Regions from separate parts of the Homo sapiens genome. Here all the other regions are linked to region 3. The links are contacts of gene promoters, found by promoter capture Hi-C in blood cells and fetal thymus (Javierre and others, 2016). All regions are on one chromosome and are shown on one strand. Each heading gives the region's core, a stretch centred on a gene start or on the middle of the fragment in contact. The rest is flanking DNA. Distances are from core to core; before and after follow the strand shown.

Region 1 (3,212 bases), core at 133-2,632, 2.2 Mb after region 3:
AGGGTTTGCGGAGGAAGGGTGGTTTCCAGATATCCTTAGTGAATGCAGGTCACATGCAAAGAGGTATCTCAGGCCCTTTTTTCTTCCTTTTTGACAACAAATTTACAGTTAATTAGGCTCTGGACTTGCTCAGAGAAGCCCAGAATTGGGCCTAAAGAATAAAATAACATGAAAAATCTGTGAAACCATGAAAATACATTTTTTAAAAAAAGTTTCCAGGTATAATACACAAAAGCAAACAAGTTTATCTTAAAAAATACCAAGTATCACATCCATAGCCTATTCCTAATTATAATTACTTCTTAAAGCAACATTTGTCTTTGTTTACAAATACAGCAGCAGGTGATAAAACCTAGTATCTCAAACTGATTGCTTACAATTTATAATACAAACATATGTATATGTCTCAAATCACATTTTAGGCAGTTTAACTTAAAATGCATAGACAATTACATACATTAAATTTGTCATTACTGTCAGTGAAAAATCACAATTTCAAGAAGAAAATTACAACAAACTCATAGAGCACACATAAGAAGTCAAGTTCACTTAATGGCAACAAGTCAGTATCTGCTGATCAGTGACAGGCAGTGAAAGTGCCTTTATCCAGGGGTAAAGTGAAGAGGCAAACTATCCTGTTACTTTGCACACTTGAATTGTTGCGCTGATCAACACTACAATCTTGAAAAACATTAAATTCTTAAAAAAAAAAAAAGGCATGCCACATGTCACCCTTTAAGATGCCCAAAGGCTGGTTACAATTTCCACCAGTAGTGATCCTAACACGTTTAGGTAAAACTAATAATGAATGGGTATGCTAACAAATTCTGTAATGTTACTTATAGACTATGAGCCTCTCAAGGACAGGGATTCCCTTATAGCTGGCAAAGAACCTGGATCAAGGACATATTGTCTACTGAATAAATGACTCAGATGTTTTCGACAGCCAGAAGCTTGCCTGCCATTTACAAAATACTGATTATTTTATTGGCAATTTCTGTTTTACTTGGCAGAAATCTGAAAATAAAAAGTGTTTGTCTTCAATACTAAATATTGCTTTATTAAAATCAAAGTCTTCCCTGAACGCCACCTACAACTTTCTATGCATAGTACAATATATCAGTGTGATTTATCTGAATTTAGGCTTATGCTTTTCAAAAACTTGAATGTCTGTGCTTAAGTTTTATTTCCAGGCTTTCTAACCTTGGCATTTGATAAAGCTAGCTTCTATCATTCAGGGTGAGAAAATTGAGACATTGGCACTTATTGTTTAGAAGTGTAGGCAATTGACTGATATTCAACCCAGGCACAGTCTTGACAAAAACTCTGAGTAGAGCTTTTTTCATCTACAGTTTCAAAAGCTGTATATTTGAGAGTACCCCAGGTAGCACTAATTATTTGTGAGGTAATCATGGGCAAATTGATTGGTTTTTTAGAAAATATCCCAATAGTCCATTGTGGTGGTGGGACTGACTGAGGCAAAATATATACTTTTCTCTGCCCTATTACTATTCTCTACTGAAGACAACCAACAGTAAAATGCACAAAACAGTCAGTCCTTGGGTAATTAAAAAATGTATTGTCTATTTCTGAATAATCAATATATTACTTTACACAAAATAGGGCTGAGTCAGAGCTGTAAATGGTGTCTTCAAAAGCATGAAAAGATGAGAAAGTGGCAGGATGGGACAGACAAGCCAAGGTCTTTGAAGTGCTCCACTTGATTCTTGAGAACCGGGTGTGAATGACGACCTAAGGTCTATGTTTTAATTTTTGTCTTTTTGGTTTCAACATTTCAAAACCTAAGCTTCCAACTCCAAGAAACAGCATTCCTGAACACCTCAACTATTTCCATTAGATTTGAAAATTCTTCCTCTGAAGCCCAAATGTCAGCATATTCTATAATCTGTATCCCCCTCAAGACCAAATATACTTGCTAACAAGCAGTCTTTTCCATAAATCAGTTTCAGCCTAGCATGTCTTGTTTTGAAAGCAACATTGTTCCCTTTTAAAAAGAAAAAAAGGTCACGCATGGTGGCTCACGCCTGTAATCTCAGCACTTTGGGAGGCTGAGGCAGGCGGATCACGAGGTCAGGAGTTTCAGACCACCCTGGCCAACATGGTGAAACCCCCGTCTCTACTAAAAATACAAAAATGGGTGTGGTGGCGGGCACCTGTAATCCCAGCTACTTGGGAGGCTGAGGCAGAAGAATCGTTTGAACCTGGAGGCAGAGGTTGCAGCGAGCCAAGATCACGCCATTGCACTCCAGCCTGGGTGACAGGGCAAGACTCTGTCTCCAAAAAAAAAAGAAAAAAGGAAAAAAGCCTTTCTTGATGCTGTTCCCCATTTCTCCACTAAAACGCCTGCTTTTCTTAACTCCACACCGAACCAACCTGAAATATTTTGGCCCAGAATGCCAACAAGAATTGAAGAAAAGATGCTTTACAAAAATAACAATATAAAAGCAAATTATATTATCCCTTTTATCTCCATTCTTACATTAAAAAAAAAAAAAAAAATCGGCCGGACGTGGTGGCTCACGCCTGTAATCCCAGCACTTTGGGAAGCCAAGGCGGGCAGATCACGAGGTCAGGAGATCGAGACCATCCTGGCTAACACAGTGAAACCCCATCTCTACTAAAAAAAAAAAAAAAAAAAAATTAGCCGGGCATGGTGGCGGGCACCTGTAGTCCCAGCTGCTTGGGAGGCTGAGGCAGGAGAATGGTGTGAACCTGGGAGATGGAGCTTGCAGTGAACCAAGATAGCACCACTGCACTCCAGCATGGGCGACAGAGCGAGACTCCGTCTCAAAAAAAAAAAAAAATCTCCCCCAAATACCAGTTGCAAAGTCCTTGAAAACAAAGGGAGTACAATAGCAGTATGATTTAGGGCACACTGGACAGTATGGGTCACTAGCAAAATTATTATACTTATAGGGAGTAATAATCCCAAATTGTGTTCATGGCCCTTCAAATCCTTTAGCAACAGATTTTCTCCCAAAATCAATGGACTTCATAATTATAGATTCCCAAACCTGCTATCTCTTCTTCCTACTCAAATTATATTTGCTCCAGTGTTAAACTAAATACTGCTAATTTGTCAGCTTATCCCAATGTAGGACAGCCAAAATAACTGTAAGGAGAGCTATCTTTGCAGCCATCTCACTTTTCACATTACTTTATCCCTCCATGGTTAACTGACATTTTGATAT
Region 2 (3,009 bases), core at 289-2,788, 2.0 Mb after region 3:
GAAATAACCACTCAGTATCTCCATCTAGACCTTTATCTATATACATATTTTTAATAAAAATTGGAGAGGGGAAGTCCAGGCACGGTGGCTCACATCTCAAAAAGGAAAAAAAAAATTAAGGAAGGGTGTTATATGGTACACCGTGGCATCAAACTGTATGTCTGATTTAATATGTGAGCAATATTAGCTCAATATATCATGATCATTTGAAGCTTCTTTATGTCATAGTTAGCTCAAAATTGTAAAACTTCAGTTTATCCTTTCAGATTCATCTCAAACACTGTCCTTCTTAAAACCTCTTGATTCCTTCTGGGCATGGTGGCTCACGCCTGTAATCCAAGCACTTTGGGAGGCCAAGGCATGCAGATCATTTGAGGTCAGGAGATCAAGACCAGCCTTGCCAACATGGTGAAACCCTATCTCTACTAAAAATACAAAAATTAGCCCGGTGTGGCAGGGCACGCCTGTAGTCCCAGCAACTTGGGAGGCTGAAGCAGGAGAATCGCTTGAACCTGGGAGGTGGAGTTTGCAGTGAGCTGAGACCACACCACTGCACTCCTAACTGGGCGACAAGAGTGAGACTCCATCTAAAAAAAAAAAAAAAACAAACAAAACTTGATTCCTGTTGATTAGAGGACTCAAAAAATTGATATAAAAATGAAATTAATTTTAAAAGACATAATAAAAGCCCGAACTATTAATTATTATATTTTTTCATCTTTTTCTTGAGGCAGGGTCTCACTATGTTGCCCAGGGTGGTCTCAAACTCATGGCCTCAAGCAATCCTCCTTTCTCAGCCTCCCAAATAGCTGGAATTACAGGAGTGAGCCACCATGCCTAGCCTATGAATTATTGATTATTAAAGTCCACAGACATAAAATTATTCTGTCAAATTGCTAGTAAAGTTTCTAAAATCTGATTCTCAATTTCAGTTCTTGTCTCAGATTGGCCAGTGAACCACACTTTAAATAGCCCCAGTCTAGGAGAAAAGAACTAGGAGAGAGCATAACCATGTTAGGCAAGAACTTCCCTTGATTTTGTTTCTCCATTTGTATAATGGCAATGATCCCCTAGAAGCAAAGCCAGTAGAGCCAGTATAGTTTATCAACCCACAGGTCCTGTGGTAGGTCTTCAGGAAGGTGCTCCCCAGGTGGGCATGGGGTGGCACATTGAGGCCATGGGACTGGTGAGAGCCGAAAGAAGAACAAGACTGAGGTGGCACAGCAGCAGAAAAGTTCTAAATATATATAGTATATATATTTGGTTATTCCATTAGTAATTAAAACTTAGTTGTTTCAAGCCAGCAAACATATTAATTAAAACTCAGTTCAAGGGATTTGTCTTGTATAGACTTGGTTTCATTTCTGTTCTTTGCTCAGAAAAAAAAAAAAAAAAAACTAAGAACTTACTGCTTATTCCTTAATAAGCTTACTCCAACCTCCAAATAAAAACACCCACTGCTATGGTTTGAACGTGTCCCCCAAAGTTTATGTGTTAGAAACTTAATCCTCAATGCAACAGTGTTAAGAAGCGGGACCTTTAAGAAGCAATTAGGTCATGAGGGCTCCGTCCTCATGAATGGATTAATGCCATTATCAAGGGAGTGGATTACTTATCAAGAGAGGGAGTTACTATAAAAGCAAGCTTGGCCCTCTCTATCTCTCACTCTGTTAGGTGTTCTCTTGCTCTTCCACCTTATACCATGGGATGATGTAGCAAGAAGCCCCTCAAGAGTTATGAACCCCTTGACCTTGGGCTTCCCAGGCTCCAGAACTGTAAGAAATAGATCTCTGTTCTTTATACATGACCCAGTCTCAGGTGTTCTGTTATAGTAGCATAAAACAGACTAGGACACCCACCATTTCATCTTCTCTCTCTCACCCCCCAACCCTCCTTATCAAACTTACTTCCCCGCTGCTGGAGAAAGGAAACCAAGAGACAGGCTCCATTAGACTTTGCATCTAGACCTACTTTGCTGCAGAACCTAGGCCGCTGGGTGTGATAATGCCTTTCCCTACCTACTTGACTGTGTTATTATAAAGACCAAATAAGAAAAGAGAAGCAGAAGTGCTTTTAAAAGTTTCAACTTTGCAAAAGTAAAGCATGTACTTAAAAAATATGCCTGGAATGTGGCCGTTGGAGCATGCTTCAAGCCCTGAGCTTATGCCCAGGTTTATGCATGTGTGAAGCTCATTGGTGATGACGGGGGGATGGGCAGGAGCTACTCAGCCATGAGAATATAAATATTATCCACAATAAATAGAACAACTCAGGGAAAACTAGAGCACCAAGGCAGCACACTGTCTAACAGATATGATTCTATCTTATAATTAAGATGTGGATGGTGAGGGACATAAAGTTGAATAAGTATTGAAACCCAGGAAATCATAGTTCTTATCCTTCTTATCCTTCTTTTTAGATCTTGTGCCCCTGTGAAAATCTGATAAGAGCTAAAAATCAAGAGTCTCTTTGGAGACTCTTAGCAGAAGTAAAAAAGCACACCCTGATATATACAGACAGTTTAGAAGATAATTTTAATTTTTTTAAAAGTTCCTTAGATTAACTTATCTTATAGTGATCTGCACTCTCATGGTGGGGCGGTGTAAGAGACATGTAGAGCAAGGGCAGCCCTTCCAGTACAATGGATGGGAAACAAATCAAGGTCCCAGATCCTCCTATCCCCACAGTATTGCCCTCAGAACATTCAGAAGGTGGTTTCTACACTGTCAATACAGTGAGCCACACAATTTCCATAGGTATCTCTCTTTTTTTTTTTTTTTTTTTGAGACAGGGTTTTTGCTCTGTCACTTAGGCTAGGCAGCAGTGGCACCAACTCGGCTCACTGTAGCCTTGACCTCCCAGGTTCAAGTGATCCTCCCACCTCATCCTTACAAGTAGCTTGAACCACAGATGCTCGCCACTGTGGCTGGCTAATTTTTTATTGTTGTTGAGATGGGGTCTCCCTATGTTTCCCAGGCTGGTCTCAAACTCCCAGGCTTACATGATCCT
Region 3 (3,215 bases), core at 157-2,656:
TACAATGAGTTACTGTACAATTCCCTTAACAGAGCTATTTTGATTACACAGGGCAAATTCTAATAGTGGGACCAGATCAACTTAACACAATATATGAAATAGTGAATACATTTTTTTGTGTTTCTATTTTCTTCAACAATTAGGAACTGTAAACTGATGATTTCTACCATTGACACATATTAACAAGATAAAAATAAAAGCCTGGGCGGGGCGCGGTGGCTCCTGCCTGTAATCCCAGCACTTTGAGAGCCAAGGCGGGCGGATCACGAGGTCAGGAGATCAAGACTATCCTGGCTAACACGGTGAAACCCCCTCTCTACCAAAAATACAAAAAATTAGCCGGGCGTGGTGGCGGGTGCCTGTAGTCCCAGCTACTCGGGAGGCTGAGGCAGGAGAACGGCATGAACCCGGGAGGCGGAGCTTGCAGTGAGCGGAGATCGCACCACTGCACTCTAGCCTGGGGAACAGAGCGAGACTCCGTCTCAAAAAAATAAAAACAAAAAAATAAAAGTCTGATATAACTTAGCATGGATTTTTCAGTAGAATAAGTTAAAATGTTCTGGAACGATTTTGTCAATGCATGTTGAAAAATCTGAAAATGTTTAGTGCTCAGTAAATTTTCTACCGTTCCCTTAGTCATCTCCATTTTAATTCTAAGCAGACGGAGGTCATTTTAAAACACAATACTAATAGAAAACATATACCGTAAATAATATGTACCAGTCATCAACTCAATTCTCACAACACTGTAAGGTAGGACTATTAAAATCTCCATTTAACAGACGAAACAGAGGTCTGTTAACTGGCTAGCCCAAGGTCACGCAGCTATTCGTGGCAAACCTGGGCCACGAAGCACCACAAAACTATGCTACTTCATCGATCTTCTGATCCATCATCCCTGAGGATTCAGATTTGCATTTACCTGGAGAATCTCACGGTGCCACAAAGTGGAGTTCCCGGTTCGTGGCTTATGAGCCACACTGCCCGCTGCGCCATGGTTAAGTCAGTAAAGCATTAGCTCATCTCATAATTAAGGTCGCCACCGAGGAACAGCGCAGACCGGCTTTCTCAGACAGACTCTTAACAGAAGCCCTGAGGCTCATCCTGCGCCGCATACCGGTCGCGCTCAGCAGAGAGGTTAGCTTTTTTAGGTGAAGTCACTAACGCTTCTGAGTCGCTCTAGGCCAACACACACCACAAAAAGTTCTAAGAACCCCAACCTATAACCTTGAGAAATTTACCTATACCCTGCAACTCCGGTATTTTCTTCCTCTAAATTCTACTTCCGGAATGGTGGCCCGCAAGGATCAAAGTTCCTCATACACGGTAGCGTCGAGCCTTTTTTCGGTTCTTTCGCCGCTCGTTTTATTCGCCGGCCCCTCCCGACAACCTCCCTGGCGCGCGCAGTTCCACTTCCGGCGTATGAGGCGGTGACAATGGGAGCAGCGCGGGCGGCGCCGGGAGGCAGCTGACAAGCGTTTGCGGCTTCGCTTCATGGCCGCTCTCCCGCCCCTCCTGGGATCTGTGGGGAGCTGGGGAGCCCGCAGCGGCCCGGAGCCGGAGCTGGCGAGCCGAGCGGAGACCTGTGCGCCGCGCCTCTGAGGCGCAGCATGTGAAGCGGAGACGGCATCCAGTGGGGGGCGAGCCTCTCAGCCGGCCGGGATGGCTACCACGGCCGAGCTCTTCGAGGTGGGCCCCGGCGGCTCTACAGGGAGTGGCAGGCCCGGGGTTTGCAGGCAGCTGGGTGGGCGGGCCGAGGAGCGGGCGTTTGCTGGCTGCCCAGGAGGAGCCCTCGGGAGAGAGGTGCGAAACAGAAGGGTTGGGGTGGCAGCTCCGTGTCAGCGCGGGCGGAGCGTGAAATGGGGGAGGGGTGCTTGGGGCCGAGGTGGGCTGGGCGGCCGGTCGGCAGAGAGGGGAAGCCGGGTGTCCCAAGGGAGGAGGGTTGCTTTTGTTTGTGGGGGCAAGAGGGAAAGTCTGGAAGGTTCGGGTGTTGGAAGATGTCTACTCCGGATGAGTAGTGGGAAGGGCTGACTCAGGACGAGGAAAGAGAGCCAGGAGCCTCAGGTTGGGCGAGTCTTGTCGCTGGGGTCCTCGCGGGAATAATAGGAGGAAGCCACTTGAGATCGGGACTCTTGGGGGCTTCTCGTTTTGAGTAATTATTCCATTAGTAAGGTTGCAGGTGGCATTCATAGGACTGCCAGTTTAACCTGACATTTGAAAAGGCTGGGACAATTTTTTTTTTTTTGGACAATAAAGGCCTACTTATCTCTTTCGACTGAAGAGAGATAGACTGAAGGGAGGCAAAATTCAAGTGAACACTTTATTTCATGTAATACATAATAATACACTCGAGGCATTTACGTGTATTATAAAATAAAAAAAGTTTATAAAATAAAACGAACACTTCGTTTCATGTATATAATGCACCTTAAGTGTATTATATGCATTTACATGTATTATAAAATCACCTAACTGCAAGCTAGAGAATCCTTAATATGTAATAGTGAGAATACTAATGTCTTTCCTCGAGCGTTTACAGTATCTAAACCTTAAAATTTAATTTCGTGAAGTCCGTTGTAAGAAGCTGTGATAAAAGTTTGAGATAATAGAATAGGAAAACTCTAATTAGGCTACAAAACAATGACACGTATAAAGCATCTCCTTGTGTGAAAGAAATGAAAACGGATAAGAAAAAGGAAAGAAAGACCCCTTTTTTGTGTGTGTGCTTGTGTTTCACATTGAGTAACAAAAGTGTAATAATTGAGAAGACTGTAATCCACAATAGGGAACTTCTCCATAAGTGAAAATGGTATCCTTTTTCTGCGTAAGATTCAGCAGTTTTTGTGGCTTACAATTTGAATGCCACAGTTTTAATAACAAATGGAAATTTACATTTGTTATTGTTACTATATTTTGCATATCAGTCAGCTTTTGGATAGATAATGCTTTTTTTGAGAGGAGTAATATATGTTATTGTTATAATAAGTTGTAATAAGACAGTAATTTGTGAATGAAGGATTGTAATTACAAGAAAGACTTCAGAGATATTGTATTTTCTCACTTAAGTGTTGGGAGATATGCTACATTAATTTCTGTAATTCCAAAATTGTGCCATCTGTTTATTGACACAAGAACGGGGAGACATTTTTCCTGCTAGGAACTTTTACTGTGTCCCTAGGTACTAAGTAGTGCTGTGGTTCCTTGTTTTATTTTTC
Region 4 (3,249 bases), core at 713-3,212, 2.1 Mb after region 3:
TTACTGTGCCTGGCTTATTGAAAGCCTTTTTTTTTTTCTTGAGACGGAGTCTTGCTCTGTTGCTTAGGCTGGAGTGCAGGGGCGCAATCTTGGCTCACTGCAACCTCCATCTCCTGGGTTCAAGCAATTCTCCTACCTCAACCTCCCGAATAGCTGGGATTACAGGTGACCGCCACCACACCCAGCTAATTTTTGAATTTTTAGTAGAGATGGGATTTCACCACGTTGGCCAGGCTGGTCTCAAACTCCTGACCTCAGATGATCCGCCCTCCTCAGCCTCCCAAAGTGCTGGGATTACAGGCGTGAGCCACCGTGCCTGGCCTGAAAGCATTTTTTAGCAGCAGTTGAAATGACACAAAAATAATTGTTTATACATTTGCATAACTTTTCATCTGAAATGTTTTATATACTGTGTGGTTTTGGTTTTTTTTCTGCCTAGGGGCAATGAAAACTATTCTAGGTGATCAACGAAAACAGATGCTCCAAAAATACAAAGAAGAAAAGCAACTTCAAAAATTGAAAGAGCAGAGAGAGAAAGCTAAACGAGGAATATTTAAAGTGGGTCGTTATAGACCTGATATGCCTTGTTTTCTTTTATCAAACCAGAATGCTGTGAAAGCTGAGCCAAAAAAGGTAAATTTAGTGTCTTAATATAAAGGAATAGTTTCTTTTATTTGGTATTTTCTTCAAGACATTAAGTGACTAACCCCTTTCCCTTAGTCTCATTATTAACTGGTTGGTAGAAGGTGGGAATGACATAATAGTAGCTCAGAAGAATGAAAATCAGGTCTCTTAAGATAGCTGTAGGTAAGTTGAGATAGGATAAAACTAGGAAAATTGGTAGAATCAGGCTGAACAATGTTATGCAAAGGATTTGGTGTTTATCCTGTAGGTTTTGCAGAATCAGGAGAAGTTTATAAATAAGGGTAGTGCCGTTGTCAAATTAATAATTCAGGAAAATACCATAGCCCTAAAGATTTTAGTCTGGAAAGGGAAGCATTTATAGATAGGGAGACCAATTGTGAGACTATTGTAATAGAATAGATGGAAAGGGGCAGTGGGTTTTAAAAGGAAAAAATAGGTGTAAGACATCTAAATAAAGGCATTTGACAGGACTGGTGGCCAAGTAGATGGTGAGGGGTAAAGGAAATTGAAAAAGCAGAGAGAAGCTCTGCTGCTAAAAGAGATAAGGAAGATAAGGAACAAGCTTAAGTGGGTGCATGTTAATAACCTTTTTAAAAATCTTAAACTTGTGTGGGCCACCTAGATATTAGTAAAAATTTGGAAAGAAGGATGGAAATTGGTGCTAAGATGTCGATTTAGGATATAATATTGGGAATATGGATGAGTGTTTAAGCTGTAGGACTAAATGAGACCATTCCAATAAGGATATATAAAATTATGAAAAAGTGGGCTCTAGAGAGCACTTTTAGGTAGGCAGAAGCCAGGTACCAGGCTGAGGACTGGTCAGAGAGGCAGGAGAACTAAGAGAGGATAGAAGCTCATATTAATGATGATTCCAATACCTGGAAAATACGGTTTGAAATTTCTTTCTCACTGAGAAATGTGAGTAATTTTTGAAGTTACTAACTTAATTTAAATCAAGCTAGAACCAGAAAAAGGAATTTAAGTATCTTTTTGCTATAAGAGATTAAGGATAAAATTTAACTTTAAAATGGGAACTTTATTTTGTAATAAGATATGGAAGTAAACCTTTACCAGTTCATATTTTAAGTTCATCTTCTTTTGACTGTTCTAAGGCTATTCCATCTTCTGTACGGATTACAAGGTCAAAGGCCAAAGACCAAATGGAGCAGACTAAGGTATAGTTGATAGTAGATAATTGTTACTAAAATGATAAATTGCACTTTTTTAGTAAGTAAATTCATTTTAAATCTAGTATCAGATTCAAACATAATGATTAATTTACTAGAGTTAACAGGTACCAAAGTCACTGTTTTTAGTATGGTGATGTAGAGCAATTTCACTTAAAATATTTGCTCCAACATTCCGTATGAGATCCATGGCAAACTGTCTTTGTGTCACACTCTTGTTTTGTTTAGTGGGCTCCTATTATGCATTCCAAGTTACCTGCATGAAATGCATATGGGGAGGAAAGCACACAGGGTAGGTGTTATAAACTTACGGGTCTTCAAAATACTGTAATAGAGATATCAGGAGGGTTACTAAAACAAAGTGAAGTGGGCAAGAAGGGAAATAATATGCCTCTTTATCAGGTGAGGAAGCTAAGTTCCACGTATGCATATATATTTTGCATTGCTATGATGTTCCTGGTGTTGTAGGCTTTTGGATATAATAAACTAAATTCTCTTTGTGGAACTTACATGTAAGGCATTTAAAAAAATACATAATATGCCAGAAGATGATAAGTATTATGGAAGAGATTTTAAAAAGGGGAGATGGGGTGTACTAGAAATAGGTATGGGGTAGAATTTTGATTGGGCAGTTAAGGAAGGCCTCCCTGAGATGAAAGCCTTTTGAGTGAAGTCATTATGGAAGTGGAGAAGAGAACCATGGGAAAGCGCTTTTTATCCAGGAGAAGTATTTTCTAGGCAAAATTAAAAGGTCTTGAAGTGAAAGTATGTCTAGGAGTGTTTAAGGACCTTCAGAAGGCAAGTTATAGTGAGCTGTTTTTAATAGCTTGGGTTATTAGCATTTTCCAAATTCTGTGATTGTGAAAAAGGATGTAAGCTTTTTTGGAAGCTTAATGGAAAGCTTTTCTTTATCTCATTTTATTTGGGGTAGTTTTTTGTTGTTGTTGTTGGGTCATTTACGATGATCAGATTTCATATGAGGAATCAATTTACAGATTAAAAATATGATGGTCTGATTCATTATGCAATTAAATCACATAGCACCTAATCTCTTAAATAGATTGATAACGAGAGTGATGTTCGAGCAATCCGACCTGGTCCAAGACAAACTTCTGAAAAGAAAGTGTCAGACAAAGAGAAAAAAGGTAGGAATATTAGCAATTACTATAAATCCTCTGAGGCTACCACAGCCATAATTTTTTTTAAGTGTCTTGAAGGTCAACTGGAATTTGTTCGTTTGTTTGTGACAGAGTCTTGCTCTGTTGCCCAGGTTGGAGTGCAGTGGCACAATCATAGCTCACTGGAGCCTCCACCTCCTGGGCTCAAGTGATCCTCCCACCTCAGCCTCCTGAGTAGCTGCAACTACAGACTTGCCACCATGCCCAGCTGATTTTTATATTTTTTGTAGAGACGG

Evidence for each region. Contacts are between HindIII fragments. The CHiCAGO score rates a contact against its expected background, and 5 or more counts as called.
Region 1: a fragment that was not itself captured here is called in contact with the fragment with the promoter of EXOC5 in region 3 in 1 of 17 cell types (fetal thymus); the score reaches 7.1 in fetal thymus.
Region 2: a fragment that was not itself captured here is called in contact with the fragment with the promoter of EXOC5 in region 3 in 7 of 17 cell types (fetal thymus, total B cells, monocytes and 4 more); the score reaches 12.8 in fetal thymus.
Region 4: a fragment that was not itself captured here is called in contact with the fragment with the promoter of EXOC5 in region 3 in 3 of 17 cell types (fetal thymus, total CD4 T cells and naive B cells); the score reaches 9.6 in fetal thymus.

Annotation. Positions count from the first base shown.
Region 1 is chr14:55,066,514-55,069,725 of GRCh38, reverse strand. MAPK1IP1L (mitogen-activated protein kinase 1 interacting protein 1 like) reads right to left here. Exons shown (of 4, transcript NM_144578.4): 4 at 1-3,212. Among named protein-coding and RNA genes, the nearest start is that of MAPK1IP1L, 16 kb to the right of the region's middle. The HindIII fragment of the contact is 854 bases long and covers 956-1,809 here.
Region 2 is chr14:55,267,171-55,270,179 of GRCh38, reverse strand. All of the region lies in intron 1 of FBXO34-AS1 (FBXO34 antisense RNA 1), which reads left to right. Among named protein-coding and RNA genes, the nearest start is that of FBXO34, 2.7 kb to the left of the region's middle. The HindIII fragment of the contact is 217 bases long and covers 1,430-1,646 here.
Region 3 is chr14:57,267,096-57,270,310 of GRCh38, reverse strand. It overlaps EXOC5 (exocyst complex component 5), which reads left to right and starts at 1,406. Exons shown (of 18, transcript NM_006544.4): 1 at 1,406-1,689. The coding sequence starts at 1,663. It overlaps AP5M1 (adaptor related protein complex 5 subunit mu 1), which reads right to left and starts at 1,340. Exons shown (of 8, transcript NM_018229.4): 1 at 923-1,340. The coding sequence starts at 996. RefSeq lists enhancers at 1,176-1,375, 1,023-1,606 and a silencer at 1,916-1,975. The HindIII fragment of the contact is 4,317 bases long and covers 1-3,215 here.
Region 4 is chr14:55,180,944-55,184,192 of GRCh38, reverse strand. It overlaps DLGAP5 (DLG associated protein 5), which reads left to right. Exons shown (of 19, transcript NM_014750.5): 3 at 440-633; 4 at 1,761-1,823; 5 at 2,896-2,980. Among named protein-coding and RNA genes, the nearest start is that of DLGAP5, 9.0 kb to the left of the region's middle. The HindIII fragment of the contact is 1,505 bases long and covers 1,210-2,714 here.